Regions from separate parts of the Homo sapiens genome. Here all the other regions are linked to region 1. The links are contacts of gene promoters, found by promoter capture Hi-C in blood cells and fetal thymus (Javierre and others, 2016). All regions are on one chromosome and are shown on one strand. The core of a region is centred on a gene start or on the middle of the fragment in contact, and the rest is flanking DNA. Distances in the headings are between cores, read along the strand shown. Region 1 holds the start of ITGB1BP2 (integrin subunit beta 1 binding protein 2). Region 2 has its middle 69 kb from the start of SLC7A3. Region 3 has its middle 40 kb from the start of SNX12. Region 4 holds the start of GCNA (germ cell nuclear acidic peptidase).

Region 1 (6,069 bases), core at 3,570-6,069:
AGGTTCAAGTGATTCTCCTGCCTCAGCCTCCTGAGTAGCTGGGATTACAGGCATGTGCCACAACACTCAACTAATTTTTTGTATTTTTAGTAGAGACGGGGTTTCATCATGTTGGCCAGGCTGGTCTCGAACTCCCTACCTCAGGTGATCCATGTGCCTCAGCCTCCTAAAGTGCAGGGATTACAGGCGTGAGCCACCGCGCCCAGCCCTGTATAACTCTTAGAAGAAAACATAGGGGCCGGGCGTGGTGGCTCACACCTGTAATCCCAACACTTTGGGAGGCCAAGACGGGCAGATCACGAGGTCAGGAGATCAAGACCATCCTGGTTAACACGCTGAAACCCGTCTCTACTAAAAATACAAAAAATTAGCCAGGCGAGGTGGCGGGCGCCTGTAGTCCCACCTACTCAAGAGACTGAGGCAGGAGAATGGCGTGAACCTCGGAGGTGGAGCTTGCAGTGAGCCAAGATTGCGCCACTGCACTCCAGCCTGCGCAACAGAGCAAGACTCCGTCTCAAAAAAAAAAGAAAAAAAAAAAAGAAGAAAAGGTAGGGACAAATGTTCATGACCTTGGATTAGGTAATGGTTTCTTAGATATGACATCAAAAGCATAAGCAACCAAAGAAAAAAATAAACTGTATTTCAAATTAGCTGGGCATGGTGGCAAGCGCCTGTAGTTTTAGCTACTCGGCAGGAGAATCGCTTGAACCCAGGAGGCAGAGGATGCAGTGAGCCGAGATCGCACCACTGCACTCCAGCCTGGGCGACAAAGCAAGACTCCGTCTAAAAAAAAAAAAAAAAAAAAAAAAAGGACTTCTTCCACCACGGAGTCTTCCCTTTTGCTACTGTCCACATTAACTTTTCCATTCTTTCAACTACAGCTCTTAAAAACTGTACTGCACAATTTGGCACTCAGTTAAACTACCTGATAATGTTTATTATTATTTCATGTAGATTGGTCTTGACTTGTCAGCCAGGTTGTTACTTTGTTGAGAGAAATGAGTAAGTCTTCTGTTTCTCAGATATTTCTAAACCACCTAACACATAACTGGGCACATAGGGAGTACTCAGTAAATACCTGGTGTTTATGAGGAATAGATTGAATGTGCATGTGCTTGTTTTCACAATGTGTGTTGAACACACAGTTGGGGGTAATAAATACAATCTTAGATAGTGAGGTGAGAGAATGACACTATGTGAAACTGAAGAATACAAGATTTATTTAAGGGAAAAAAACAGCATGGTTTGGACAATTTTGTTCTCCCCTCCTTCAGCCTCCTGCTGCTCAATGATGCCACATGGCCAACAATATCCTGGTATCTAAGATTCTAAGGGAATCATTGAGGTCCTATCTAGACATCAACTGTCTGGTGTCACTATTCCCCCATTGCTTCCTCCTCTTCCTCCTCCTCTGTCCAGCTCAGATCATCATCTGAATCGTCAGATTCTTCCTCATCCATCTCTAACACAACCCCTGCCCTAGCCTTCTTAGCTAGTGCATCAGGGTGCTCCAGCTGGGCCCAGGATCCTGGGTCAGCCTTGACCAGGGAGATTTCAACCCGAGATGGCATCAAGAAGACAGAGCTCTGCTCCACGTTTATGACCTGAGGAGGAGCAAAGGAAAACAGAAGAAAGAGAGAATGAGGAAATCAAAGGCATTGGGGTCAGGGTGGAGTGGTGACAAATGAGAGAGAGAAATTTTTAATAAGGTAAGAAAAAAGGTAAGGGAGGAATAAGACAATAAGGGAGAGAGAGGAAAGAAATGAGAGATGAAAAGGGAGAAGGAAGAGGGGAGGGAAAGAGGGAAATAGGAAGAGTAGGAGAGAGAGAGAAAATGAAAGCAAATGAAGAGAAAACCTCCATTTTCCTAGTACAACTCCTTCCCTCAAGACACCCTCTATTCCAGTCTAGCCGCTCTTTCACCCATCTGCCTCCCACTCTTGTGTCCCCTGGTCTTCACTTACCCCCCAGAGCTTCATCTGTGCTTGGAACACACGGTTACCATCAAAGACAATGTGGACATGAAGCTGAGAGAAAAGAATTACAGGGGTAGTAACAAACCCAGAAGGTCAGAATAGGTCATTACGACAGATAACCAGGTCAGAGGTATGATCCACAGGTTGGCCAGACAGCCCTGACCTAATAACTCTCCTTTCCTCTAAGGGTACTATGGAGCCTACAGGTTAACAGCAAATGGCAACTCTGCCTGTGAGATTGTAGTATCACCCAATTGACTATCCTCCCATCCAACATCAGATCATTGCTCACCTCAGTTTGACTGGCCTTCACCCAGTTAAACGCAGGAAGTGGAATCTGGCCATATACAGTCACCACTACTAAGGAATCTGTCTGGTGCCAATCATGGCGGCAAGATGCTGGGAGCTAAAGAGAAGATGTGAAATGCAGGTGGTAAGAATAAATTCTTAACTGAAGGGGAGTTCTCATGATGCACGTGGAGAAGAGACAGAGAGTCTCAAAAAGATTAACACAACCTCATATTGCAAAACCTCTGGGCTGTTGAGGGATAAGGAGCAGAATCTTATTTGGTCTATACTAAAGGGAGAAGACAGGGAGCTTGGCTATGTGGTACAGAGAGGGAGGAGAATTTACCTCTGAGATTGGGTTCTAATCAAGAGTTCAGGAAAGCTGGGGCTTACCTGCTTCCCCCAGTCATGTCTACCGACTCTGCACCCTGGTTGTGCCAAGAATGCCCCAAAATCCAGGGTCTGGATGCCACAACAGCTCCAAGACTTCATCCTGAAGTAGGAAGATAATTCAACTGAATTCTCTCACCCCCAATATTATCTTATGACCAAATATTAGGAGAAACCTGTCTCATAGCCTCATAGCCCACCCAGTCCCCTCCCTCACCCCTCATGGAATCGGGGTGCTCCTGGGTGGTAGGTACATGGAGTAGCATCACTCTCAGGGCCTTGGTAAACCTAAGAAGGATAAAGTAGAACCAGGTCATTCTAAGGTATATCCTACTCAGCCTATCTATACCCAGTCATCCCTCAGCCATATGCTTGAGCCCCTCAAAACTCTCACTCACAGCATCACATCCTGGGTTCTGGCAGCTGGAACCAGTCCGGATCAGACTGTCAAGTCCTGGGCAAGGGAAACAGAGTCAGGAACTTATCCATCCCCCCACTCAATTGCCACTTCCACTAAATTCCAGTCTATGAAGTTGATCCTACTAAAGACCCACCTACCTGCCCCAGGTTCCTGGTCTAATTCCTTCTGTTCCAATGCCATTTCCAGGGCTTGGGATATATTTAGCGGCAGCAGCTTCAGAGGCAACTCTGACCTAGGGGTTAAGGGTGGTGATTTAGTTCTGACCCATTAGCTATGATTGCTAGCTCCAACACTCCCACCGATGGTAATGGAATTAAAGAAGCCTGGTGAAAGTGAGGCAGAGTTGGAGAGGTTGGGTAGCAACCCCATTGCCAATTTTCATCTCTGTGGACATCCCAAATACCTGAACCCTAGAGAAATCCCCAGCACTTCTCTTACCCATCTACTCAGTTGCTCTAAACCTAACCACTTTTCTCTGCAGAACTGAGTCATATCCTCTTCCTCTTTATCTAATCGTGGACCTAATATGACTTCCTTCTGTTGCTCTTATTATTCCCACAAAATTTGGGAAGTCTCCTGGCTGCCAATAATACAATACATCCTTTTCTTGATATGAGATTTATCTTAAAGTTCTTTTCTAGAAAGAGAAGTCATTCTCAACAATCCCTTTTGTGTTATACACTAAGGATGTATTTGTGAGGGGCTATCTACTCTGTTGATTCAGGTATCTATCCCATCATCCCACACCACCTTAGAGGAAAGGGCGTTATTTCCAGACACAAATTTCCCCTAAGGCACAGGATATACACCATCCAAACCCTGACATCTGGCCCTCCTCACATCCCTGGTCCCTAGTTCCCAGTCCTCAATGACCCATTAATCACTCCTAGGAAGCTACATGAAAATAAGAAAAGTCCAGGGGCCTCCTCCTCTTTACTTGGGCCTCTCCCGGCGCAAGGTCTCTGCTGACTTTGGAATCACATTCAGAGGTTTTTGCTCCTGAAGTGAACTGCTTGTAGCAGGGCCTTCAGGTTGAGGGGCCTCAGGAAGCTTCTCAGCACAGTGTGGTCCCATAGTACAGCCCTAGTATAGATAAGGAGATAGGATTAGGGATAGAATCCTTCTATTGGGGGCAGAATCCAAGTACATAAATAATTTACCTTGATGTTTAAGAACTCAGAGAAATCTACAGTTCGCTTTCGGCAGCAGGACCAACCCTGATAACAAGAGACCCAGATCAGCTTAGCTTCCTGGGTATTATCTCTTCTGGGAAATGCTCTTGCTAACCCCCCTCACCTACTCCTCACCTTAAGTGCATCATGGAAGATTGGGACCCCAGGGTGATGGCAACAGGAATCTGTGGACATCAGTAGAAGTTATCAAGGAAGGGAAGATAACTATACCAAGTATCATTTTTCACCTCTTCCCCGGGTTTCTATTTATGGTTTCTTCCCATATAATGTGAAGAAAAAAAAAAAAGCCAGCAAAGGCTGTAAGATCACTCAGACCAATTAAACTAGGGCAGGTAGTTTCTTTCCCCGCTCCTCAAACACACTGCCCCCCAGCTGACCAGTCCCCAACACCCACACAGAGCCCCTGGCCAGGTCAGGATTCTTTACTCACCAGGAAGGTTGGTATTAGGGTCAAAGTGCTGCCCACAGCCTTTGTTACGACAGAGTAGAGACATGGAAGCGTTGGTTGAATGATTACTGAAAGGGTATTTCAAGGAGTCTGGCTGCCGAATGGGGAACACCTCTTAGTCTGGAGGCTTTTAGCTGCCTGGAAGGGCCAGCTGTTTCTATCTTTAGTTCAGGAGGCGTACACCTCCTAACATGGGCAAGGGAACTTCAATTCGTCTTTCCAGCCAATAGGAAAGAGCTCGGGGGCATTTTAGCTCTGAGGCTCAGGAAAAAAGGATCAGGCAGAGTAGGGCTTTGAACTTGGGTGAGGTCAGCTCACCACTACTGAGACAGTTTTAGATTCACCACAGCAATTCCAAGCCTTGGACACAGCAGCAGCTGCTAAGAAACAAATACCAATTTTGAGACCCCCCCCGCGCCCCCAGCTCGATGAGGATTAAGCCCATTTTCTTCCTCTTTCAGAGGGGCAGCTTTCCTCCATCATTACTTCCATGTAGTATCAATAGCGCTAATCCTTGCCAACCCCTCCAGCCATTTGATGCACCTCATCCCCACCTCCTCCCCATGTTTGTCTAGATCAATACTGTAATCCAAAGGTCATAAAGGATTACCTTTATAGAGTCTACTGCTCATCTCCTAAGATAACTCCCCTCCCTCCTTTCCCCTTCAAAAACACCACAGAAAATTAAAAGGCTTAAAATGTATTTTAATAGGTTGATGCTGCATTACTGCTCCATTTTTCAGAAAAACTCCAAATATATGAGACAAATCAAACACAGTACACCAATGAAAAAAAAAATGCACAGCATGACTACCTAAGATAGGCGAGTCTAAGAGCTACTGTCAGACCTTCAGTATACAGTAACCCTGTTCCCAAGATTGTACTAGGCCTATCAAGAAAAGCTGTGAACAGCAACATCATAGACACAAAAGGGTCATTCCTGGGTGTCCTCACCCAAGAAAAAGATGGAGGCAAGTTAACACAAGATTTTTTTTTAAAGATACACTAAAATGAAAATCTCTAAGAGAAAATGTCTTCTTTAGGACATGAAGGGGTAATATATGGGGTATAACAGAACCGTATGTACGCTGCCTGTGACCTTTGTGGACGTTTGCCTGAATTCTCACCTGGGAGTGAATGGAGCAATGGGGCTAAGGTCATTGGGGGATGTTTGGTTTTTGTGGTGTATGTGGCAGTTTCTCTGGGGCTGGGGGAGTGTAAGGATAAGAAGCAAGTGAGGTTGGGCACGGTGGCTCACCCCTGTAATCCCAGCATTTTGGGAGGCCGAGGTGGGTAGATCACGAGGTCAGGAGTTCAAGATCAACCTGGACAAGCTTGAACCCGGGAGGCAGA
Region 2 (6,069 bases), core at 1,435-3,934, 300 kb after region 1:
AGTCCTTCTTCACATGGTAGCAGCAAGCAGAAGTTCAGAGCAAAGGTGGGAAAAAGCCCCTTATAAAACCATCAGATCTCATGAGAACTCACTCACCATCATGAGAACAGGATGGGGGAAACCGTCCCCCCGATTCAATTATCTCCACCTGGTCTCTCCCAGGACATATGGGGATTATGGGAACTACAATTCAAGATGAGATTTGGATGAGGACACAGCCCAACCATGTCAGACACAGTCAGAAGAAGAAAAAGCAAGGCAACAAACAAAAGGCTACTTACTGCCAAAGAGAAGTTTCAAAATTCATTTATATAGTGAACATTTATTGAGCACTTATAATGTGCTAAACACACTGAGATACAAAGATTGGTTAAGTCTTTCTTTTCTTTCTTTCTTTCTTTCTTCCTTTCTTCTTTCTTTTCCTTCCTTCCTTCTTTCCTTCCTTCTTTTCTTTCTTTCTTCCTTCCTTCTTTCCTTCCTTCTTTTCTTTCTTTCTTTCTTCCCTCCCTCCCTCCCTCCCTCCCTCCCTCCCTCCCTTCCTTCCTTCCTTCCTTCCTTCCTCTCTTTCTTTCTTTTGAGACCAATCTCACTCTTATTGCCCAGGCTGGAGTGCAGGGGCACCATCATAGCTCACTACAGACTCGAACTCCTAGGCTCAAGCAGTCCTCCCACCTCAGCCTCCCGAGTAGCTGGGACTACAGGCACACACCACCATGCCCGGCTGCAATATTTTATTTCTATCACCATGTATCTTACATCTAGTGGGGGATGATATTGTGTAAACAGAAATATTACATTCTAGTGTGGTAACTGCCATTGCAGAGTGGTGAACAGAGTGCTATGGGAACACAGAGAACAGAACAATCAACTATGTTTAATACACATTGCCTGTAGCATAGTGGTTAAAAGTTCAGGTTTTGAAGACCTATATTTAAATCCCACCATTTACTAGATGACAATGCTATTTAGCCCCTTTAAATCTCAGCTTTTTCATCTGTAAAATGATAATAGTAGTTATAGAATTGATTGAGGATTAAAATAAGCTAATGAACATAAATTGTTTAGCAAAACTCCTTGATAAATAATAGCTAGTTTGTCTTTCCCAAGAAGACACATACTAAAGGATGAGTAGGACATTGTCAGGTGAGGAAGAAAGAAAAGGACATTCTAAGAGGACAGGATACAATGTGTGAAGACATGGAGACATTATAGGGCCTGCTGTGTTTGTGGAATGGTGAGAAGCTTAGCATGCAGGAGTTTGGGGGTGGAGTAGAGCGTGAGGCTAACAACCTGGACTGAATCCTAACATGCTAGACCAAGGAGTTGTGTTTTATCCTGTAGGCACCGAGGAGTCAAAAGAGTGAGTTTTGTTTTGTAAAGATCATTTCGAAAGTAGTGTGGAAGTTGAACAGGTGTAGAATGGAGAGAGATTGGTGGCAGGACTACTTAGCAGACGTAATAGTCCAAGCTGGACATTATGAGAGTCTGAACCAAGATCGAGGCAGTATGGGGGAAAGGCTAGGCTTGACAGAATGATATTTATGAGTTAAAATCAACAGGACTGTATGCTGATTGATTAGATGTGCAGCGTTAGGGAGAAGGGATAATTAAGGCAAAAGCAAAAGCTTCTAGCTTAGGAACATGGCTTGCGATTGTGAATGAGAATGTAATTCAAGAATTTAGTAAATTGTGGCAGTAGAGAAGGTAAGTCTGATTTTAGACTAGTGGAGCTTAGGGTACCTCTTTGTAACCTGTAGGTAAAGATGCTTAATTGTAATTTGGAAATACAAATCTAGAGCTTAAGCAAGAGTTCGAGGCTATTATTAAAAATTTCCATGGATGAAATTGGAAATCATCATTCTCAGTAAACTATCGCAAGGACAAAAAACCAAACACTGCATGTTCTCACTCATAGATGGGAATTGAACAATGAGAACACATGGACACAGGAAGGGGAACATCACACTCTGGGGACTGTTGTGGGGTCGGGGGAGAGGGGAGGGATAGCATTAGGAGATATACCTAATGTTAAATGACGAGTTAATGGGTGCAGCACACCAGCATGGCACATGTATACATATGTAACTAACCTGCACATTGTGCACATGTACCCTAAAACTTAAAGTATATATATAAAAAAAAAAAAGAATAAAGCAACTTAGATTTAACTGTAAAAAAAATTTTGCAATCTGTCATTGTATAGATGATAGTTGAAGCTGTGTAAGTAGATAAACTTTGTTCCAGGTGGTGTAAGAAGATAAGAGACTAGGACATAACCCTAGGGAATCCCAATGAATAAGTGTTGAACAGAAGAGGGAAGTCTGAAAGGGAAAGGTAAGAAAAAAAAATGAAGAGACAGTAGTGTCATTTCTTCCCATTTCACTCCTTTCTTCCCAGAGGCCAAGAAGAACTTCTGGGAAATAAGAGCAACCAATCGCCTTAGGCTGTATAAATATGGGCCAATAAGTTCAGCAACTAGGAAGCTTTCCTTTAAAGTTTGTTGGAGTCACGGCAGAAGGCAGACTGCAGCAAATTGAACAAATGGACAGGGCGAAAGGACAGTGGTTGTAGATTAATTGTTCCAGAAATCTGGCTATGAAAGGAAGGAGGTAGAAAGGATGGTAGTTTGTAACGAGATAGGGGAGAAATAGTGTTTTAACTTTGTTTTAGAATGGGGAAACGTTAAGCCTGTCTGTAGGTATATAAGAAAATGTGGAAAATAGAAGAGAAAGGGGATATTTGATGGAATCAGAGTCTAGAGAGACAATCTTCCTTGTAGATTCTTTTGGTGACCACCACTTGTAAGTTGATTTAGGATGTTCAGAGTGTGGAACAAAGCCAGAGAAGAATCGAGAGGGAGTGAGACACAAAAGAACAAAGCTTGGAGTCCTGTTCATTACTTCCTTTTATGTTCTAGAGAATGCTTATCATAGAGAACAATCAGTCTTTCTCTGGGTCTCCATTTACCCTGTTACTTTGCCCTAGAAGATGTTATTCATTTCCCTGACTGAAACAGATGGTAGAAAATGCAACTCAGCTTACTTACTGTTAAAACAAACCATCTTTTTGGACTTTTATTATTTGGAATTTTCTTATAATAGTTATATTTATTTTAGAAATTTTAGATAATACAGATAAAAAATAAAAGAAAACTGGCAGCCCTACTCCCCAGGAATAATCAATATTAACATTTTGGTATATATTCTTTCAGTCTTTTTTCCCTTATCTGTAATAGGAGGAAAATATGCAAATAGCCAACCCCCATGGAACCACTTCCATAAGGCTTCTGTCAGATTCCAAATGTTCCCAAGGCTTCTATAGTACTTATGTAACAAGCCACACAGTGGATTGATTACTGTTAATGTATGTCCTCTGGGAGTTGCCAAGGAGGCTCACACTTTCAATTACTGTACATCCCAGATTTGAAAGCATATCCCTAACTATTTGTCTTAAGGATTTTAATTTTTTTCTTTCTTGCTACTGGATATAAGTGTCTAACAATTCTCACTGGGAATTGATTAGTGAGTAGGTATTGTCAGGTAACATGATTAATGCTGTAATAAGTATATAGGAAACTAAGAACTCAGAAAAAGAATTACTCATTGAAATTTTAATAATAACTGTCATTTAAGAGATGAGATTAACTATGTGGAGAAGTGGTTTACAACTGTGTTGCTAATGAAAACATAGGAAATAACCAAGTTAATCAAAGTGCAACTTTAGAACTGGGTGGTAACTTAAAAAAGCATTTCTGCCCTCCCTCAGCTGCAGGCATCTCGGCACAGAGACAGAGAGAGAGAGAGAGAGAGAGAGAGAAGAGAGAGAGAGAGAGAGACTCTGTTTGTTTGGGTAAAAGTAAGGGCAGAGAAAAAAAGTTTCTGTCTGGTAATCCAGAGAATTCTTTCGGATCTGATCCAAGACCACCAAGGCAGTACCTCAATGAGTCTGCAAGAGCCACAGTGTTACTGAGCTTGGGGTGCCCCCTAACGTAGATGTGACTACAGTGACCAAAAACTTAGATCACAACACCCAAAGTCCCTTCGAATACCTGGAAAGTTTCCCAAGAAGGACGGGTATGAACAAGCCCAGACTACAAAGACTACTAAACACCTAACATTTCAATACTTAGACACTGACGAACATGCACAAGCACGAAGACCATTTAGGAAAACATGATCTTCCCAAATGAACTAAATAAGGCACCAAGGACCAAGCCTGGAGAGACAGAGATATGTGATCTTTCGGACAGAGAATTTGAAATAGCTGTTTTGAAGAAACTCAAGAAAATTCAAGATAACACAGATAAGGAATTCAGAATCCTATCAGATAAATTTAACACAGAGATTTAAATAATTAAAAAGTATCAAGCAGAAATTCTGGTGTTAAAAAATGTAATTGACACACTGAAGAATGAATCAGAGTTTCTTAATTGCAGAATTGATCAAGCAGAAGAAAGAATTAATGAGCTTGAAGACAGGCCATTTGAAAATACATGGCCAGGCATAGTAGCTTATGTCTGTAATCCCAGCACTTCGGGAGGCTGAAGCAGGAGGATCACTTGAGCCCAGGAGTTTAAGACCAGCCTGGGCAACATAACAAGGCATCATTTCTATAAAAAATTTTTTTTTAATTAGCTGGGTATGGTGGCATGTGTGCCTGTAGTCTTAGCTACTCAGGAGGCTGAGGCAGGAGGATCACTTGAATCTAGGAGTTCAAGGCTGCAATGAGCTATGATTGTGCCACTGCACGACAGCCTGGGTGAAAGAGCAAGACCTTGGAAAAAAAAACCCACAGTCAGAGGAGACCAAAGAAAAAATAATAAAAAAGAATGAAGCACTCTTACAAGATCTAGAAAATAGCCTCAAAAGGGCAAGTCTAAGAGTTATTGGCCATAAAGAGATGGGAGAGAGAGATAGGGGTGGAAAGTTTATTTAAAGGGACAATAACAGAGAACTTCCCAAACCTAGAGAAAGTTATCAATACTTGAATTCAAGAGAGTTATAGAACAGCAAGTAGATTGAACTGAAATAAGACTATGATTTAATAATCAAACTTCCGAAGGTCAAGAATAAGAAAGGATCCAGGCTGGGCACAGTGGCTCATGCCTGTAATCCCAACACTCTGGGAGGCCAAGGTGGGTGGGTCACTTGAGGCCAGGAGTTCGAGACCAGCCTGGCTAACATGGTGAAACCCTGTCTCTACTAAAAATTAAAAAAAATATTAGCCAGGCATGGTGCCCTCCCCCTGCAGTCCCAGCTATTCAGGAGGCTGAAGCATGAGAATTGCTAGAACCTGGGAGGTGGAGGTTGCAGTGAGCTGAGACTGTGCCACTGCACTCCCTCTGTCTGGGTGACAGAGGGAGCCTCTGCCTCAAAAAATAATAATAATAAAATAAAAATAAAAGATACCAAAAGCAGCAAGAGAAAAGAAAGAAAAAAAAACATACAATGGAGCTCCAATATATCCAGCAGCAGACTTTTCAGTGGAAACCTTACAGGCCAGGAGAGAGTGGCGTGACATATTTAAAGTGCTGAAGGAAAAAACTTTTACCCTAAAATAGTACATCTGGCAAAAATATCCTTCAAACATGAAGGAGAAATAAAGACTTTTCCAGACAAACAAAAGCTGAGGGATTTCATCAAAACCAGACTTATCTTACAAGAAATGCTAAAGGGAGTTCTTCAGTCTGAAAGAAAAGGATACTAATGAGGAATAAGAAATCATCTGAAGGTATAATACAAAACTCACGGGTAACAGTAAGTACACAGAAAAACACAAAATATTATAACATTGTAATTGCAATGCATAAATACTCATATCTTGAGTAGAAAGACTAAAAGATGAACCGATCAAAAATAATAACTATGACAACTTTTCAAGACATAAACAGTACAATAAAATATAAATAGAAACAACAAAAAGTTATAAGGCTGGAGGATGAGGTTAAAGTGTAGAGTTTTTATTAGTTTTCTCTTTGCTTGTTTGTTAGTTACCTTGTTTGTTCATGCAATTAGTGTTAAGTTGTCATCAGTTTAATAATAACATTGAATGTAAATGGACTCAACTCTC
Region 3 (6,069 bases), core at 1,149-3,648, 270 kb after region 1:
TGTTCATACTTCAGCTCATGAATATCTCTCTTTAAAGATTGGCATCTAGAATGAAATGTACTATTTCAGGTACATGTTCTGATCAGTACAGAAGAGTGGGTTAGTGATTTTCTTTGTTCTAGACCCTATGCTACTACTCATGCAGGCCAAAATTGTTAGCTTTTTTTTCTTTTCTTTTCTTGTTTTTTTTTTTTTTGACAGCCACATTGATCACTCTGTTGAATTATGTTGAGCCTATAGTTAGTTGAAATCACTAAGACTAAAAACTCAACTATATTTATCCATTTGGTACTTAAATGCTTATGTTTTAGGACCTAGTATGAGGCTTTAATTTGATCTCTGTCTTTTCAGCCTAAGAAATTTAGCTTATCATTCCTGCTTGTCAAACTTCTTTTGACTCCTGAATGTCATCCAGTTGTACTAGCTTCTTTTCCAGTTTATCATCTGCAAATTTGATTAGTATGCCACTAAGTGTCTTCATACAAATGACTATCTTAAAATATCAAAAAAGGCAGAGCGGAGCTCAAATATTTGCAGCCTGACTAGACACCTTTCCTATGTTGAAATCAATCCATCAAATAAGGGATTGCTACTGTTCATCTACTTTCACCTGCTGTTGTATATAGGATCTGACCCAACAGACCTGTCACAATACTACCTTGAACCAATTTCTAGTGTTTTCCTGGGATTAGTGTTTCAAAGTTATAGGGAAGCTTGTTTATTGTAAAATGGGGACCTTTCACACAGTCCAAACGTGCTATTCTTGAGTGGAGATCGTCCTGGTGTGGCTTGGTCTGTGTCCTCCTTGGTGCCAGAGGCAAAGAGAAATGTTTGAGGCAGCCAAGGCTATTCTACCTTAATCAGAATCTTCATCAAATGTAAGGAACAGAGGTTATCTAGTTCAGACTTCTAAAATCTTACTGATAAAACCTATTAATGTGTCCGTTTCTTTTAATGCTCTATCTGTCAACAAGTGCTCCTGCACATTATTTAAAAAGGAGGAAAGGTGCCTTATAGAAAGGGGCTCTCAGAATTTGCAAGTAAGGATGGGAAAAGGTCACTGTCTGAAAATGAAGTAAAATGAAACAAAATGGATAAAAACAGCTATCTGAAGGCATACATCTGCAGAATTAATCTACCCTGAGAGAGCTAGGTTTTCTTTTAATGAGACTGGAATGTTTTTTAGGTTTCCATCAAAGACCAGAGTATATGGCCTCAGGAAAAAGAGAATGAAATGTAATAATGTAAAGAAATCCTAACTTACTCAACTGCCTTATAAATTGGCCATCTGAAATAGTGATCTATGAATAGAAGGGTAAAGCCTGGTTATCTGCAAGGAGCCTGGAAAGGGGAAGAATAACATTTTATTTCTTTAGCCTTTTCGGTTTTTTTTTTCCGGTTGTTGTTTAATTACATAGGTAACATGTGAGTACATTCTCCTTATAAAAATATTTAAACATTACAGCTAAGAGTAAGTTTCTTCTCACTAAACTTCTTGTCCCCAATTCTGGTTAGTCAGGCTTTTTATAAAAATATCTTGAGTCAAGAAAGATAGTTTATCAGGCTTATATAATCTGATGTTAATATATCCTTTGTGGATATAAACTCCGTTTGTTTTATTTATTTTTGTTTGTTTTCTGTTTTTTTTAAAAAACATTTTTTCCCTTTTTAAAAAAAAATGTGCTCACAAATCAACCTTTTAATATATAGACTGGTCTGCTGAATTTGTCTGCCTGCCTCACTGGAGTAACTACCTTGTACAAAGATATTGCCTACCTAGGAGGTTGTTCTTGTATAGTCAGCAACTAAGCCTCCTGATCTCAAACAGCTCTCTGACTTCTGTATGTACAGTGGGGGATACAGGATTCAAAGACTTTTTTTTTCTTTTTTTCTTTTTGTTGAGACAGGGTCTCACTCTGTCACCCAGGCTGGAGTGCTGTGGCACAATCTTGGCTCACTGCAACCTCCACTTCCCAGGCTCAAGTGATCCTCCCACCTCAGCCTCCCGAATAGCTGGGACCACAGGTGAGCACCACCATACCTGCCTGATTTTTTTCTATTTTTTATAGAGATGGGATTTTACCACGTTGCTCACGCTGCTCTCGAATTCCTGGACTCAAGCAATCCACCTGCCTCGGCCTCCTAAAGTGCTGGGACTGAAGGCGTGAGCCACTGTGCCCAGCCTAAAGACATTTTAAAAAAGCTCCATGAGGAGCTTTCATTTTACTGGGAAGACTAGACATGCATGTGAGGCATTTTTTGAAGGGGATGATACCATATATTCATATTATAATATAAGACAGTATATATAGCAAAGGGTTAATTGGACAGCATAAATGGGTGCTATACAAATTCATATCCTCTTTCAGTTCCTGTCATCTCTCTTTCTTCCCCTTCATTCACCTTATTTTTCCTCACCTCCCACTCTTCAATTCACTGTGATCTGGTTTCTCTTCTGCCACTGGTGTGAAGTTACTTGAGGTAAAAGATATGGGGCTCCAGGGTCACATGTTATACTTTGCTTTTTTTTTTTTTTGAGACAGGGTCTCGCTCTGTCACCCAGGCTGGAGTGCAGTGGCGTGATTCTCGTGCCTCAGCCTCCTGAGTAGCTGGAATTACAGGCGCGTGCCACCATACCTGGCTAATTTTTGTATTTTTAGTAGAGATGGGGTTTCACCACATTGGCCAGTCTAGTCTCAAACTTCTGACCTCAAGTGATCTGCCTGCCTTGGCCTCCCAAAGTGCTGGGATTACAGGCATGAGCTACTGTGCCTGCCCGCTTTGCTGTTTTTGACTAGGCTCATCTTATCCATTCTCTTGGCTTCAGCTGCTTATTATACACTGACTTCACACAAATGTATGTTCAATCCAGACCTCTTTTCTGAGCTTCAGACCCCGGGTAGCCATCTGCCTATTTTCATGCTCCATAGTCATCGCAAATTCACTATTTCCCATACTAAGCTACTTCCTTCCCCACCCTCTCAGCCTAAGCCCACTCCTCCTCTTGTGTTTCTTATGTCAGTGAATGGCACTATCAACCCAGTTCCCCAAGTCTAAAACCTTCACACCATCCTCTCTCTATTTTACCACCAAATCCTTTCAGGTTTATTTGCTAAATATTCACTGGATCCATATACTTCACCTTTTTTCCTAATGCCACTACCCTGGTCCAGGTCACTGTCATCTCAAACTTTATTGCAACTGTCTCCTAATTCATCTACTTGCCCCCACTCTTATTTTACCCTCAAATCATGTCCCACACTATAGCCAGAGAATATATTCTAAAACAAAAACCCTTCAGTGACTTCCCAGTCCCCTTAAGAGAAAATTCAAAATTCTTTAAGTGACTTACAAGGCCCTACATCTGGCTCCTGCATCAGCTTCATTTATCACCACTCCTCATCTCACACTCTGTACCTCAGCAATTCTAAATTCCATTTTCAATGATCGGTATATGCCATGCTCTCTTTCTCTTGAATCCAAGCCCTCATACATGCTACCCCAATGTCTGGTTGGTCCACTTTTAGTGATACTATGGCTGAGCAGTGTGTACAGATTGTGGACAGCTTAATCTTTCTATTTTAAAAGTCCTTATTGCCTTTCTCATCTACCCTCATTGTTAGAAAGGCATCCTCATTGTCTTAGCATCCACTGATGATCATTATCTGAATTATTAGTTTCATAAGGGTATTCCAAATGGTGATTTTCCTAGTTCTGTCATTCCTTCTACACTATTTTTTTTTTGAGTCAGGGTCTTGCTCCGTCATCCAAGCTGGAGTGCAGTGGCACGATCATGGCTCATTGTAACTTGGAACTCCTGGGCTCAAGCGACCCTCCTGCTTCAGCCTCCCAAAGTGCTGGTATTAGAGGTGTGAGCCACCTCGCCCAGCTTCTTCTACAACTATTAACTGAAATTCTTCTGTAAATAATTTTCCCTTACCAACTAGGTCTTTTTGGTATCCTAAAATAACCATTTGTACATGATGAGTAGAATAAATGTTTCTTTTGTGAATTTTTCTTTGTGCATATTTTTTTGTGTATTTTTAAAAATTTAAGTATTTAAATTAGTGATTTGAAGCTTTGGACAATTTTGTCAGAGAAACCATTTATAAGTAGTGGTTATGTTTCCAGAATAGCAGATAAAAACTTGCTTAATCCACAGGGTCAATAAAATATTACACATAGCAATAACAAATATAAAATATTTTTGTAATATTAGTTATGAAATGAAAGAAAACAGTTTTTAAAGTTTAACTTGAGTACCAGTACTTGAGAGAAAAGCAATCTTAATTAGAGGAAGAAGAGGTAGATGGATACTTATGGTGATGTGAAGGGATCTGCAGAGTAATTTCAAGGACTTTTAGAATTTGACGGCATTGGTTCTTTTTTTTTTTTTTTTTTTTTTTTTTTTTTTGAGACAGAGTCTCGCTTTGTTGCCCAGCCTGGAGTGCAATGGCACGATCTCAGCTCACTGCAACCTCTGCCTCCCGAATTCAAGCAATTCTCCTGCTTTAGCCTCCCTAGTAGCTGGGATTACAGGCGCTCACCACCACGCCCGGCTAATTTTTTTTTTCTTTTTTTGAGGCTGAATGTCGCTCTGTTGCCTAGGCTGGAGTGCAGTGGTGTGATCTCAGCTCACTGCAAGCTCTGCCTCCCAGGTTCATGCCATTCTCCTGCCTCAGCCTCCCGAGTAGCTGGGACTACAGGTGCCTGCCACCACACCTGGCTACTTTTTGGTCTTTTTAGTAGAGACGGGGTTTCACCATGTTAGCCAGGATGGTCTCAAACTCCTGACCTCAGGAGATCTGCCTGCCTCGGCCTCCCAAAGTGTTGGGATTACAGGCGTGAGCCACCTCACCCGGCTGGCATTGATTCTTAATGTTTAATTTCACTACAGATTTAAGCTATTTCCATTTATTTTTTTTCCCTTTGAGATAGGGTCTTACTTTGTTGCCCAGGCTGGAGTGCAGTGGCATAATCATAGCTCACTGCAGCCTTGAACTCCTGGTCTCAAGTGATTATCCTGACTCAGCCTCCCAAGTAGCTAGGACTACAGGTACATGCCACGGCTCCTGGTTAATTACTTTTTTTTTTTTTTTTTTTTTTTTGGTAGAGACAAGGTCTCACTCTGTTGCCCAGGCTGGCCTTGGATTCCTGGGCTCAAATGATTCTCCTGCCTTGGCCTCCCAAAGTGTTGGTATTATAGGCATGAACTACCATGCCCGGCCTTAAGTTTCTTTCTCTTTCTCTCTCTCTTTTAGACAAGGTCTCTCTCTGTCATCCAGGCTGGAGTGCAATAGCATGATCGTAGCTCACTGATACCTTGAACTCCTGGGCTCAAGGGATCCTCCTGCCTCAGCCTCCCAAGTAACTGGAACTACAGGTGCACATCATGATGCCTAGCTAATTGTTTTTTTAATTTTTTTTTTTTTTTTTTGTAGAAATGGGAAGGTCTCACTATGTTGCCAGGACTGGTCTTGAACTCCTGGCTTCAAGAGATCCTCCTGCCTCAGCCTCCCAAAGTGCTGCTATTACAGGCATGAGCCACCACGCCCAGCCAGTCTCTCTTAATTGAGAGCAGTCTATGCCTCACATTTTCTTTGTCAAGCCATTGGCTTGTTGCAGAAAGTGAATCAGTGGTCCTGTAGAATATCCCTCATTTTAGATATGTTTGTTTTCTTTTTTATGCTGTCATTTACTTTATTCCTTTATATCCCACATTTTTCTATAATGGAAGTTAGCTTTAGAAGCTTGATGATATTCAGATTCAACTTTCTTCATTTGGTCAATAATATTTAACAGGGGTAACTGTGTATTTCACTTTGAATCACATCTGGAGGCACACATCCATTCCATTTTTAATAAATGAGTAACATCTGGATTCCTTCATTATTTTATTTAACTTATTATTATTATTTTTAGAGATGTAGTCTTGCTCTGTCACCAGGCTAAAGTGCAGTGGCGTGATCATAGCTCACTGCAGTCTTGATCTCCTGGCTCAAGTGATCCTCCTGTCTTAGCCTCCTGAATAGCTAGAACTGCAAGCATGCACCACCCTGCCTGGCTAAT
Region 4 (6,069 bases), core at 2,339-4,838, 280 kb before region 1:
CAAAGCTGAAAATTTTAATGTCTGAGGTCCGTTTGTATTTTTTTTTTTCCCAGAGAGCTACCTTCTAATATTCTTTGTCATGTTCCATGCGTTTGTTCACCTTTTTCTAAATTACTGATTTATAAAAAGCTTTTTGTTAAGGAAAATAGCCCTTTATATTTGTAACACAAATATTTTTCCAGTTTATTTACCATATTTATGTTTTGTTTGATATCAAACTTAGACCTTTCTACTCCAAAAACTATTGGAAACAAAATCCATCTATTGTTTTCTAACATTTTAATGGTTTCATTTTTTATTTTAAAATATTTGATCCATGTGTAATCTATTTTGGCATAAGCAATAAGGCAAAAACCCAAGTCTCATTTTTTTCCAAATGGTTAGCCAGTTATCCTCAAATGGTTTGTTGACTAATCCATATTTTTCCCCATTGATTTGAAATGCTGAAATGTCGTTTTTCTTGTTTAGTAAATTTTCTTATGTACTTAGGTCTATTTCCAGACTTTCTGTTGGTTTGTACCTTCCCCCATATCATACCCTTGCATGCATATCTGTGAGGGAGGAAAATAGGGTAGTGTTCCAGAAGAGAAAAAACTTAGAGACAGGCAGCTATCTTAAAAATAGCTCCTGATCACATCACTGCACTCCAACCCGGGCGACAGAGCAGACCCTGTCTCTCACACGCACAAAAAAAATACCTCATGTTGGAAGTTCTCTGAACCTTTATTGGTTCAGGGCGCATCTCCATAAAAAAATTTAAAACAAAAACACCTTGTGTTATCATGGAGAAGAAAAATACTTGTGTACCTCTAGAGGCAGCACTATCGATACTGGCGTGGAACAACAGGTTTTAATTGCATCAGAATGAAGAACTTTCTAGAAACCACATATATTCAACGATGCACTGTTGCCTCAAATGTCGTCATTTCCTGGCCACTAACAAAGAAATTATATAGCGGATTCAAGAATTTCATAGGAGGCTGGACTCCTAGTTTGTAAAATCCTTCTTTACAATTCTCATTTTATAACAAACCAAGTTATACGCTCTACAGATACTAAAGGAAATAAACATACTTCTCGAGAAAGCTGTTTTGCCAATACGGTAACACTAAACTAAAAGAAAACAGAACTTTCTAAATCTCACCAATCCTCGTCCTCCTCCGGCTCTTGCAAGCGGGGCAGCTCTTTTTTGCACCCATCCATGTCTGTAGTGAAAGACAAAGATACACTTTCTTAAGAAAGCCAGAACTCGGCCGGGCGCAGTGGCTCACGCCTATAATCCCAGCACTTTGGGAGGCCGAGGCGGGCAGATCACAATGTCATGAGATCGAGACCATCCTGGCTAACACGGTGAAACCCTATCTCTATTAAAAATACAAAAAATTAGCCAGGCGTGGTGGCGGGCGCCTGTAGTCCCAGCTACTCGAGAGGCTGAGGCAGGAAAATGGCGTGAACCCGGGAGGCAGAGCTTGCAGTGAGCCGAGATTGTGCCACTGCACTCCAGCCTGGGCCACAGAGCTAGACTCCATCTCAAAAAAGAAAAAGAAAAAGAAAATAAAATAAAAAGAAAAAAAAAAGAAAGCCAGAACTCAAAAGCAGAGACATCTCTACATTTACATTCTGCATTTATCTTTGGGTATCTTCCCCACCTTAAAGCCGAAACTTTGCTCTGCAAAATGAAAAGGATTTAAATTTGTTTTGTTGCAAACTTTTCCCACTCAGGCCTCTACCACCCCAATCTCTTCCCACCCTGCACCCGCCCCCACTTCCCACTCCCTCCACTCCCACCTCAACTTGCCAGTCTTCCACGTATCAGGGCTCGACCGCCCCCACATCCCACTGGCCCTCCACCTCCCTACAACCTTCAGTCCCCCTACTCCTGCCCCAAGGAAGTCTCCCACCTACCGGGTGTCAACCTCTCCCCCTTCCCCTACCTCTTTACTCCCCACTCTGTCAATCTTACCCAGAATAGGCTACCACCGCCCCCTCATCACCTTCTTCCTTCTGTCCAACCTCCACTGCCCCCTTACCTCCCGCCACTCTGGCTTCTCACTGGTCTTATATGAATCCGGCCACCCCCTCCACGCTTCCTATTCCTGCCTCCAGCCTCTAGCCAATCTTCGACCAAACAGGCCTTGACCCCTCCCCAACTCCTTCCTCCTATCAGGTCTGGACCCTACCCCCACCATTCTCACCTCAGTCTTCCACCAATCAGGCCTCAACCCCACCACCCTTCCCCCACACTCGCACCTCCAACCACCTCCAGCCACCTTCAACTGCTCCCAACCGGTTTTCCAAGCAGGCTTCCACTCCCCCACACTTCTATCCAACTTCTGCCCTACCCCACTCCTGTCTCCCACCACCACTCAGTCCTCAGCCAAAGAGACCTCAACCCCCACACACACACCCCTACCCACAACCACTAGCTCCCACCTCCCCCCAATGCTGCAACGGGCACCCCCACTTCTCCCCACAGCCACTGGCACCCCCACCTCCAATGCCACCACCAGCATCCTCACTTCTCCCCACGCCCACCAGCACCACCACGTGCTCCTAGGCCACTTCCACCACCACCAAGTGTTCCTACGCCGCCACCAGAACCCCCCACTTCCCTCAACGCCCCCATTGGCACCCCCACCTTCAATGCGGCCACCGGCGCCTCCACTTCTCCCCACACCGCCAGCGCTACTATGTGCTCCTATGCCACCAACGCCACCAAGTACTCCTAGGCCGCAACTGGCACCCCCACCTCCCCCCACGCTGCCACTGGCATCCCTACTTCTCCCCACCCGCCACTAGGGACACCACCTGTTCCTACACCACCACTGGGGCCCCCACCTCCCCCCAGTGCCGCAACCAGCGCCCTCACTTCTCCCCGCGCCGCCACCGGCGCCACGTATTCCTACATAGCCACTGGCGCCACCACACGCTCCTACGCCACCACCAGCGCTCCCACTTCCCCCAAGGCCGCCAATGGTGCCCCTACTTCTCCCCACACCGTCACTGGTGCTACCACATGCTCCTACACCACCACCAGCACCCCCACTTCCCCGACACTGCCACAGGCACCCCCACTTCCCCCAACGCCGCCACTGGTGCCCCTACTTCTCTCCACCCGCCACTGGCACCAACACCTCCTTCTACGCCACCACCAGGCCCCCCACTATCTGCAATGACGCCACCAGCGCCCCTTCTCCCCACGCCGCCACTGGCACTACCAGCTGCTCCTACGCCGCCACCGGCGCCCCCACCCCTCCCAATGCCGCCACTGGCGCCACCATATGTTTCCTACACCACCATGGGCGCCCCCACCTCCCCCAATGCTACCACTGGCGCCTCCACTTCTCCCCTCGCTGCCACTTCCTCTACTCCCACCTCAGGCCTACACGGGCAACCAGAGTCCAAGGTATACAGTGGTCCTGATTTTAATTAAGTCACTCAATTAGGATTAACCTCTGGACCACTTCAGCACCCATCTCAGTCCGACCAGCCGGTCACCTACCTGGTGTTGCAGCCTCTGGCGTGGCCGGCAGCAGCTCACCTCCAACTGCCCGTGGAGTGTGTGCAAAGATCCGGAGCAACTGCGATGAACAACGCCAGGCGCAGGCCCCTTTATAGTGCCCGGACCTAGGGGGCGGTAGCAGTAATTCACGTGTGCTCGCCCGCGCTCCCCTGTACCCACCTATCACAGTGGTCACAAGACAAATTTGAACTTCGCGCCTGTGAACTTGGCGCCTAGCTGTAACGCTTCCGGGATCAGGTCTGTCGCTTTCCACTCCCACGGATGTTGCTTATTTGTCCCAAAACCGCCATTTCAATACTAGAGCGTGGGCACCCGAGGCCAATTCTGCGATTAAAAGTCCCTAACAACTTTCTGATAAAGAGAAACCATGTGAAATCGTTCATAACAAACTTTTATCCTGCGAGAACTTGGATAAGCGAGCCTTGTTCCTTACTTGAATTGTCCAGACCTCTAAGTCCGTTATTGCAACCACTGGGAAAGGGCGCGGGGGGAGGGGCGGGGGCACGAGAACTGGAGCGAAGGCGCGGGAGCAGGGGCGTGGACGGGAACACCGAGGGGAGGGCGGGGCGCGGGGGGACGCGGGAGCGCAGGGGGGCGGGGGTTGCAGGGAAGGCCATCTAGACCCCTAGATAAGAGCAAGGCAGCAACTCAACAGCGCCTGGCAACGGCGAACTATGATGTTTACTTCCAGAACCCTCCAAACCCTGGAGATAAAAAAAGGTTACTTGAGGCTTTTTGGCACTCACTCCATACACACCAAGAAAAACAAACGGGGAAAACAGCGCTTTCTAGATTGTGCCAGTTTCTCCAGCGAGCATCTATATATTTCGTAATGTATGCCTTTGGGTAACAGAACACACATAAAATGTCCCTGCGTTTGATACTATTTTGTGCTAAGCATTATTCCAAGTGTCTTACGACTTAATTCATACAACACTTTAAAAAGTAGGCAACTGTTAGCACTCTCATTTTAGAGATCACACAGCTAGAAAGTGGCAGAGCTGGCCGGGCACAGTGGCTCACGCCTGTAACCCCAGCACTTTGGGAGGCTGAGGCGGGTGGATCACGAAGTCAGGAGCTTGAGACCAGCCTGGTCAACATGGTGAAACCCCGTCTCTACTAAAGATAAAAAAAAAAAAATAGCCGCGTGTGGTGGCCCGCGCCTGTAATCCCAGCTACTCGGGAGGCTGAGGCAGGAGAATCGCTGGAACCTGGGAGGCGGAGGTTGCAGTGAGCCGAGATCGTGCCATTGCACTCCAGCATGGGGACAGGGCGAGACTCCATCTCAAAAAAAAAAAAAAAAGTGGCAGAGCTGAGATTCAAACTCCAACTCTAGTTCCAAAACCTGCTCTTAAGCACCAGATTGCCTACCTAAATACAGATACTTTCTCAGTTGATAAAAAAATTGGATAAAGGGGGCTGATTACTCTCTCTCTCTACAATGAAGTTGCAAATTAACCTCTACAAGCCTCTTTATAAGAATGGGGATTACATAACTGTGCCTCAGAGGCTTGGGCAAAGAACCAGGATGTTAGCTATAATTGAGAGGCATATGCTTCAAGTAAAAGAATGGGATAGGTTTGGAATCAAATCTTAAAATGGGCAGTTCAGAAATTACACACATTTACTCAAGGTGTGCAAGCAACTCCTTTAGATTGAAGGCAGGAGGAGCTGAAGTAGACTGGAAATAATGTAGATTTTTCAAGAGAAGCGAATGGGAGTAAAAACTTTTGAGTAGGCTTTCTTCCCATAATAATCTTTTAGGAAACAAACACCAATCCACATGAGGGCTTTAAGAAGTTGGGAATTAAATCATGCAAAATTTTACTGAAAAAAATCTTCCCTCTCATATCTGAGAAAACTGGCAAACAGCATTTGCCATGATATCAATTCATGATATCAATCATGAATTGATATCTTCCTCCCTGATGCTTGTGGCAGAGTTCGACCACTATACAGAGCAGGAAGGAAAATAATTTTGCCCCCAAGAGCCAAGAAAAGAATGGTCCACATGAAAACCGAGACTACAAGGGTAAATGAAAGCAGAGAGGTCACAAGCAAAAGAGGAGCAAGCATGAATGGGTGTGTTGGGGATCACAGGCTTTGTCTTTTTTTTTTTTTGAGATGACATCTCACTCTGTTGTCCAGGCTGGAATGCAATGGCACGATCTCAGCTCACTGCAACCTCTGCCTCCCGGGTTCAAGCGATTCTCCTGTCTCAGCCTCGCATGTAGTTGGGATTACAAGCGTGTGCCACCACTCCCGGCTAGTTTTTTTGTATTTTTAGTAGAGACAGGGTTTCACCATGTTAGCCAGGCTGGTCTTGAACTCCTGACCTCAAGTGATCCACCTGCCTCCGCCTCCCAAAGTGCTGGGGTTACAGGCGTGAGCCACCACACAAGGCCACTTTGCCTTCTTAATGGATCATAAACTAACCCCACCCTCTACCAGACCTGGCTGAGAAAACAATTCCTAATATCATAGCTACAGTAGGGAAATTTGGTCCTTTCATGCTGTTTGGAGGTGTTTAAATATAGGTTTCATCA

What was found. The method cuts DNA at HindIII sites, captures the fragments that hold promoters and counts their contacts. A CHiCAGO score of 5 or more calls a contact.
Region 2: a contact is called between a fragment that was not itself captured here and the fragment with the promoter of ITGB1BP2 in region 1, in 3 of 17 cell types (naive B cells, total B cells and naive CD4 T cells). The highest score is 6.2, in naive B cells.
Region 3: a fragment that was not itself captured here is called in contact with the fragment with the promoter of ITGB1BP2 in region 1 in 3 of 17 cell types (naive B cells, total CD8 T cells and naive CD4 T cells); the score reaches 6.5 in naive B cells.
Region 4: the fragment with the promoter of GCNA here is called in contact with the fragment with the promoter of ITGB1BP2 in region 1 in 3 of 17 cell types (activated CD4 T cells, erythroblasts and naive B cells); the score reaches 7.9 in activated CD4 T cells.

Annotation. Positions count from the first base shown.
Region 1 is chrX:71,300,500-71,306,568 of GRCh38, reverse strand. It overlaps ITGB1BP2 (integrin subunit beta 1 binding protein 2), which reads right to left and starts at 4,819. Exons shown (of 11, transcript NM_012278.4): 1 at 4,699-4,819; 2 at 4,383-4,432; 3 at 4,236-4,292; 4 at 4,013-4,158; 5 at 3,213-3,307; 6 at 3,053-3,108; 7 at 2,872-2,942; 8 at 2,658-2,757; 9 at 2,269-2,382; 10 at 1,965-2,027; 11 at 1,198-1,604. The coding sequence starts at 4,762. The coding sequence ends at 1,377. It overlaps NONO (non-POU domain containing octamer binding), which reads right to left. Exons shown (of 12, transcript NM_007363.5): 12 at 5,401-6,069. RefSeq lists an enhancer at 1,822-3,021. The HindIII fragment of the contact is 1,925 bases long and covers 4,128-6,052 here.
Region 2 is chrX:70,996,571-71,002,639 of GRCh38, reverse strand. No RefSeq gene overlaps it. Among named protein-coding and RNA genes, the nearest start is that of SLC7A3, 69 kb to the right of the region's middle. The HindIII fragment of the contact is 397 bases long and covers 2,486-2,882 here.
Region 3 is chrX:71,025,265-71,031,333 of GRCh38, reverse strand. No RefSeq gene overlaps it. Among named protein-coding and RNA genes, the nearest start is that of SNX12, 40 kb to the left of the region's middle. The HindIII fragment of the contact is 3,365 bases long and covers 716-4,080 here.
Region 4 is chrX:71,575,956-71,582,024 of GRCh38, reverse strand. GCNA (germ cell nuclear acidic peptidase) reads right to left here and starts at 3,588. Exons shown (of 13, transcript NM_052957.5): 1 at 3,503-3,588; 2 at 1,145-1,205. The coding sequence starts at 1,203. RefSeq lists an enhancer at 2,740-3,381. The HindIII fragment of the contact is 6,206 bases long and covers 132-6,069 here.